Regions from separate parts of the Homo sapiens genome. Here region 1 is linked to region 2. Evidence: promoter capture Hi-C in human tissues and cell types (Jung and others, 2019). All regions are on one chromosome and are shown on one strand. The core of a region is centred on a gene start or on the middle of the fragment in contact, and the rest is flanking DNA. Distances in the headings are between cores, read along the strand shown. Region 1 has its middle 11 kb from the start of EXOC7. Region 2 holds the start of ST6GALNAC1 (ST6 N-acetylgalactosaminide alpha-2,6-sialyltransferase 1).

The links. Contacts are between HindIII fragments. The study calls those that stand out against the background at their distance.
Region 1: a fragment that was not itself captured here is called in contact with the fragment with the promoter of ST6GALNAC1 in region 2 in 2 of the 25 tissues and cell types used here (dorsolateral prefrontal cortex and stomach).

The regions. Positions count from the first base shown.
Region 1 is chr17:76,112,408-76,116,349 of GRCh38, reverse strand. No RefSeq gene overlaps it. Among named protein-coding and RNA genes, the nearest start is that of EXOC7, 11 kb to the right of the region's middle. The HindIII fragment of the contact is 8,353 bases long and covers 1-3,942 here.
Region 2 is chr17:76,641,168-76,645,043 of GRCh38, reverse strand. ST6GALNAC1 (ST6 N-acetylgalactosaminide alpha-2,6-sialyltransferase 1) reads left to right here and starts at 1,287. Exons shown (of 9, transcript NM_018414.5): 1 at 1,287-1,536. The coding sequence starts at 1,406. The HindIII fragment of the contact is 5,915 bases long and covers 1-3,876 here.

The DNA.
Region 1 (3,942 bases), core at 157-2,656, 530 kb after region 2:
CCGGGCATGGTGGCACATGCCTGTAGTCCCAGATACTTGGGAGGGTGAGGTGGGAGGATGGCTTAAGCCTGGGAGGCAGAGGTTGCAGTGAGCCAAGATCCCCCACTGCACTCCTGCCTGGGCAACAGAGCTAGACCCTATCTCAAAAACAAGCAAACGAAAAAGGACAAAGTGCATTAAACAGGCAGTTTTAACCTGAGATGTCATTTAAAAAAAAAATTTTTTTTTTTTTGAGACAGAGTCTCACTCTGTCGCCCAGGCTGGAGTGCAGTGGCATGATTTTAGCTCACTGCAACCTCCTACCTCCCGGGTTCAAGCGATTCTCCACCTCAGCCTCCTGAGTAGCTGGGACTACAGGTGCAGGCCACCATGCCCAGCTAATTTTTGTATTTTTAGTAGAGACAGGGTTTCACCATGCTGGCTAGGCTGGTCTCGAACCCCTGACCTCGTGATCCACTTGCCTCAGCTTCCCAAAGTGCTTGGATTACAGGCGTGAGCCACCGCACCTGGCCTAAAAATTTTTTTCTTAGACTTTTTTTTATTTTTTTGAGATAGGGCTTCGCTCTGTCACCCAAGCTGGAGTGCAGTGGCACAGTCATAGCTCACTGCCGCCTCCAACTCCTGGGCTCAAGCCATCCTCCTGCCTCATTCTCCTGAGTAGCTGGGACTACAGGCACATGCTACCATGCCTGGCTAATTTTTTATTTTTTATAGAGATGGGGTCTCGCTATGTTGCCCAGGCTGGTCTCGAACTCCTGGCCTCAAATGATCCTCCCACCTCGGCCTCCCAAAACTCTGAGATTACAGGTGTGAGTTATTGTGCCCAACAGACATGTTTTAGAGCAGCTTCAGGTTTACAGAAAAAAAAATCATGCAGAAAGGATAGAGTTGTCATATATCTCCTCCTGCTCCCTGTCCCTCAGTTTCCACTATTATTAAGAACTAGCAAGGCCGGAAGTGGTGGCTTATGCCTGTAACCCCAGAGCTTTAGGAGGCTGAGGCGAGATGATTAATTGAGCCCAGGAGTTTGTGACCAGCCTGGACAATATAGCAAGACCCCATCTCTACAAAACAATTAAATAATTAGCTGAGTGTGATGGCACACACTCGAGGTTGCAGTGAGCTATGATTGGGCCACTGAACTCCAGCCTGGGTGACAGAGCTGGACCCTGTCTCTAAATAAATAAATAACTTGAATGAGTGTGGTACATTTACTACAACTGATGGACAAATTGATTGATACATTATTATTAACTAAAGCCCATAGTTTACTTTTTATTTCTAAAAATCTTTTTTTAATTTTTGTGGGTACGTAGTAGGTATATATATTTATGGGTTACATGAGATATCTTGATACAGGCATAATCACATCAGGGTAAATGGAGTGTCCATCACCTCAAGCACTTATCCTTTCTTTGTGTTACAAACAATCCAATTATACTCTTTTTTTCTTTTCTTTTCTTTTTTTTTTTTTTTTTGAGACAGCATCTCTCTCTGTTGCCCAGGCTGGAGTGCAGTGGTGCCATCTCAGATGCTCACTGCGACCTCCGCCTCCCAGGTTCAAGCGATTCTCCTGCCTCAGCCTCCCGAGTAGCTGGGACTACAGGCGCCTGCCACCATGTCTGGCTAATTTTTGTATTTTTTAGTAGAGACATGGTTTTGCCATGTTGGCCAGGCTGGTCTCGAACTCCTAGCCTCAAGTGATCCGCCTGCCTCAGCCTTTCAAAGTGCTGGGATTACAGGCGTAAGCCACTGCACCCGGCCCAATTATACTCTTTCAGTTATTTTTATTTATTTTATTTTTTGATATGGAGTCTCGCTGTGTCACCCATGCTGGAGTGCAGTGGAATGATCTCGGCTCACTGAAACCTCCGCCTCCTGGGTTCAAGCAATTCTCCTGCCTCAGCCTCCCGAGTAGCTGGGATTACAGGTGCCCGCCACCACGCCTGGCTAATTTTTGTATTTTTAGTAGAGACAGGGTTTCACCATGTTGGCCACGCTGGTCTCGAACTCCTGACTTCAGGTGATCTACCCGCCTCGGCCTCCCAAAGTGTTGGGATTACAGGTGTGAGCCACCATGCCCGGCCCATAGTTTTTTTTTTTTTTTTGAGACGGAGTCTCACTCTTCGCCCAGGCTGGAGTGCAGTGGCGCGATCTTGGCTCACTGCAAGCTCCACCTCCCGGGTTCATGCCATTCTCCTGCCTCAGCCTCCCGAGTAGCTGGGACTACAGGCGCCCCGCCACCATGCCTGGCTAATTTTTTGTGTTTTTAGTGGAGATGGGGTTTCACCGTGTTAGCCAGGCTGGTCTCGATCTCCTGACCTCATGATCCGCCCGCCTCAGCCTCTCAAAGTGCTGGGATTATAGGCGTGAGCCACTGCGCCCGGCCGCCCATAGTTATTTTTAATGTACAATAAATTATTATTGACTGTAATCACCCTATTGTGCTATCAAATACTAGGTCTTATTCATTCTAGCTAATTATATTTTTGTGCACATTAACCAGCCCCCCTTCTCCCTCTTTCCCCACCATTACTTTTCCCAGCCTCTGCTCTCTATCTCCATGAGTTCCATTCTTTTAAGTTTTAGCTCCCACAAATAAGTGAGAACACATGAAGTTTTTCTTTCTGTGCCTGGCTTATTTCACGTAACACAATGACCTCCTGCTCCATCCAAGTTATTGCAAATGACAGGGTCTCATTCTTTTTTATGGGTGACTAGTACTCCCAGGTGTATATGAACCACATTTTCTTTATCCATTTGTTTGTTGATGGACACTTAGTGTATTAGTCCATTTCATACCACTGTGAAGAAATACCCAAGACTGGGTAATTTATAAAGAAAAAGAGGTTTAATGGACTCAGTTTCACGTGGCTGGGGAGGCCTCACAATCATGGAAGAAGGCGAAGGAGGAGAAAAGGCACATCTTACATGGTGGCAGGCAAGGAAAGTGTGTACAGGGGAACTGCCCTTTGTGAAACCATCAGATCTCATGAGACTTACTCACTATCACGAGAAGAGCACAGGAAAAACCTACCCCTAAAATAATTAGCCAGGCATGGAGGTGGGCACCTGCAATCCCAGCTATTCAGGAGGCTGAGGCAGAGAATTACATGAACCCAAGAGGCGGAGGTTGCAGTGAGCCAAGATCACGCCACTGCACTCCGGCCTGGGTGACAGAGTGAGATTCCGTCTCAAAAGAAACAAAACAAAACAAAAACAGAAAAATCCGCCCCTGTCATTCAATTACCTCCCACTGGGTCCCTCCCATGACATATGGGGATTATGGGAACTATAATTCAAGATGAGATTTGAGTGGGGACACAGGTTGCTTCCAATTCTTAGCTGTTGTGAATAGTGCTGCAATAAACACGGGAGTATAGATATCTTTTCAATATATTGATTTCCTTTCTTTTGGGTATATACCTACCAGTGGGATTGCTGGATCACCTGGTGGCTCTATTTTTAGTTTTTTGAGGAACCTCCATACTGTTCCATAGGAGTTATACTAATTCGCATTGCCACCAACAGTGTACGAGGGTACCCTTTTCTCCACATCCTCACCAGCATTTGTTATGGCCTGTCCTTTGGATAAAAGCCATTTTAACTGGGGTGAGAAAATACCTCATTATAATTTTGATTTGCATCTCTGATGATCAATGATGTTGAGCACCTTTTCATATATCTGTTTGCCATTTGTATATCGCCTTTTAAGAAATGTCTATTCAGATCTTTTGCCCATTTTTGGTTGTATTATTAGATTTTTTTTCCCATAGAATTGTTTGAGCTCCTTATATATTCCCATTACTAAATCCCGTCAGATAGCTAGTTGGCAAATATTTCTCCCATTCTGTGAGTTGTCTCTTCACTTTGTTAATTGTTTCCTTAAAGTCCATAGTTTAAAATGGGGTTTGTGCTTTGTGTTATATAGTTCTGTGTGTT
Region 2 (3,876 bases), core at 38-2,537:
CAGTTCAACACCCTGGACAATATTTTTATAAAATTACTAACTCACAGTACTTTATGGAGGGCTGCTTCTCTGAATTTTTAAAGTTTTCTACAAATGGTCTTGATGTTTTTCCTCTGAGGTGTACTTTTTTTTCCCAAGAATTATGTGGGTTTTGTTTTGCATTGCTTTGATCAAGGTAGAGTTAATGATTTCTCGTAGGTGCTACTAAGCAGTGGATACGAATGCAATCGGCCAGGCACGGTGGCTCACACCTGTAATCCTAGCACTTTGGGAGGCCGAGGCAGGTGGATCATGAGGTCAGAAGATCGAGACCATCCTGGCCAGCATGGTGAAACCCCGTCTCCACTAAAAATACAAAAATTAGCCGGGTGTGGTGTTGGGTGCCTGTAGTCCCAGCTACTCAGGAGGCTGAGGCAGGAGAATCACTTGAGCCCGGGAGGCGGAGGTTGCAGTGAGCCAAGATTGCGCCACTGCACTCCAGGCTGGCAACGAGTGAGAATGTCTCAAAAAAAAAAAAGAAAGAAAAATGCAATCATGGCTGGGCATGGTGGCCGATGCCTGTAATCCCAGCACTTTGGGAGGCTGAGGTGGGAGGATCACTTAAGTCCAGGAGTTTGAGACCAGCCTGGGCAACATACTGAGACCCATCTCTATTTCTTAAAAAAAGAATGCAATCTCTAGGTCAGTTGGATCTGGACCCCAAGCCAGTGGCTCACCATGTGCTCTTGGGCTGGCAGCTTGTTCTTGGAGGCCATTTCCTCCTCTGTCAAATGGAGGTGATGACAGTACCCAGCCCCTAGAGTGGCTGTGAGGGTTCCATGAGTGCCTGTGAAGACTCCCCACTGCCCAGCTCAGAGTGAGCCCTCATACGTGCTGGTCATTGTTGTAATGGTCATGATTTCAGAAGAGAAACAGAGAAGGTTGAGCTAAAGTGTTGAACATGTGTGTTGGGTGCCTACCACAAACAAAGCCCTGTGCATGGTGGCCTCAAGGTGTCTTCATGATAATCCCAAAAGGAAGATAACTGCTTTTTTCCATTTATATGGCGGCAGATGGGTTAAGTAACCTGACCAAGATGAGACTGCATATAATGTGGTTATATTTCTCATAAAGCTTGACTTTCAGATATTGGCTTCAAAGACAAAAAAGGAAGGTAAACATGTTTGAACACAAGGAGTTTCCCTTCCTTTAAGCCACGCCAGCTTATAAGCCTTCATACAGCAGTGAAGGCGGTTCCTCCCTTCCCAGGCAGAGACTGATAAACTCAGCACTTGCCGGAGTGGCTCATTGTTAAGACAAAGGGTGTGCACTTCCTGGCCAGGAAACCTGAGCGGTGAGACTCCCAGCTGCCTACATCAAGGCCCCAGGACATGCAGAACCTTCCTCTAGAACCCGACCCACCACCATGAGGTCCTGCCTGTGGAGATGCAGGCACCTGAGCCAAGGCGTCCAGTGGTCCTTGCTTCTGGCTGTCCTGGTCTTCTTTCTCTTCGCCTTGCCCTCTTTTATTAAGGAGCCTCAAACAAAGCCTTCCAGGTAAGATTCTTGTCCTTTCCACTCCTCATATTTCATTCATTTGAGGAAACAGAAAAATGATAGCCCAGGGAGGACTGGGGAAGTCTGAGCCACCTGTGTGTCCACATGGGAGTGTCAGGGGTCAGGAGTGTTCTCAAGAAGCACTGGGAAGAAAGACTAATGGGAAGACTTGCAGGGAACAGAAAGGGTGGCAGTGGGCAACCAAGACGCATGGGATGGACATGTCCAGATACTGTGGGACACGTACAGGAGTTTGAGAACTGATGGGTTAGGTCTGCAGAGTGCAGACAGAAGACATGACTGCTTTCCCCTCTGGGACTGTGAGTAATGGCAGCAGCACTGGGTTAGTTCTTACATGCCATTCTCTACGTCCTGAAGCGAAAGAGCCATGCTGTGTGTTCCACTTGTTTCAGACCCGGACTCACCCTAAGTTTGTCAGTTAAAATGGAGAGCCTCCCTCTTAGGGATGCAGTTTCAATTGTGGACGCCAAGTTAATCCTTCAAAAATACCTTCTAGACCATTTTTCTTAGAAAATACACACATCTCCAGCAGTGAGAGGCCCTCTTTTTTTTTTTTTTTTTTTTGAGACGGAGTCTCACTCTGCTGCCGGAGTGCTGGAGTGCAGTGGCATGATCTCAGCTCACTGCAACCTCCACCTCCCAGGTTCAAGCCTCAGCTTCCTGAGTAGCTGGGACTACAGGCGCATGCCACCAGGCCTGGCTAAGTTTTTGTATTTTTAGTAGAGACAGGTTTTCACCATGTTGGCCAGGCTGGTCTTGAACTCCCGACCTCAAGTGATCTACCCACCTCGGCCTCCCAAAGCGCTGGGATGACAGGCGTGAGCCACTGCGCCCAGCCAATAATTTCATTTCACTGTTCCTAAACGTTGAAAGTAATGCAGGTTCTCATAGAGTTAAAAAAAATACAGAAAGGTGAAGCAGGAAGTGAGGGTCTCCCTATTATACCTCCACCTCTATCCACTCTTCAAGGTGACCACTCTTGACACTTGAGGGTACACGGAATTCTATTATTATGTAGCTAACACTGCTATAGTATTTACTATGAGCTAGCCCCTATTCTAAGTGCTTGATATACGTTAACTCACTAATTCTCATTATTAGGACACTGAGATACACAGAACTGAAGTGATTCTCCCAAGGTCACCCTGCTAGTATGCGGCAGGGCCAAGATTCAAACCCAGGCATTTTGGTGCCATACCCTGTGCTCATTACCTTTATGCTATACAAGCCCGATAGATAGATGATAGATAGATAGATAGATAGATAGGCAGATAGAGAGAGAGAGAGATAGAGAGATAGGCAGATAGATGGACAGATAGATGGATAGATAGATGGAGATATAGATATCTATATATAGTATGGAGATATATATACAATATATACGCTATATATTGATATACTATATGTCAATATGTAGCATGAGAGATATGTATATATAGATATATTGTATATATAGATATAGATATATACACATATATATCATATAGATTTACATATATATGCACAAGAGAGCTTATATATATATCTCATATATACGTATATATACATATATATGTATCTCATGCTACATATTGTTCCACAGGTTGACCTTGTAAGTCACACTATATCATGGACATCTTTCCATGTCGGGACATACAGGTCCACTCCCTTCTTTCAACAGTTGCTTAGCATTCCACAGGGTAGGTACTGTTTACTTAACCAACCCCTATCAAGTTTCTCACATACCTTTGAGCACTTGCGTAAGTGATTTCCGGGTAGATTTCTTGAAGTGGAATTGCCAAGACAATGCATATGTTTACATGAAATGTCAGTGGACACCATTGAATTGTTGTCTCAGAATGCTACACTGACAGGTGCAAGTTTACTTTACCTCCCAGGACCACACTGGCTTTCATTAGGGTTTTGAAGTCTTAATCATCAGATAGGTGAAAGTGTTTCTCTTTTTAATTTGCATTTCTCAGATCACTGATGTATTGAGAATCTTAACTTTCTTAGTCATTTGTACTTTTCTATGAATGACCTGTTCATATCTTTTCTTCCTTTTTATTATTTTTTTCATATTTGTAGGAGCTTTTTGTATATTAGGGATATTAACCTTTTTATCATATATGTTACAATACTTCTAAATGCAGTGGGATAATTTAGGAATCAGAGAGACTGAAGGGTTGAGGAGGATTTATTATCATTATTAAGGTGCACTGGCCCAGTCACATTAACATCCAAAAAAACTGAGCCCCGAACAAAGCGTCAGGTTACCTTTTAAGCATTTCGTGGGGCAGGGGGAGATCTGTGCAGGGGGAAGCATATTACAGAAGCAAG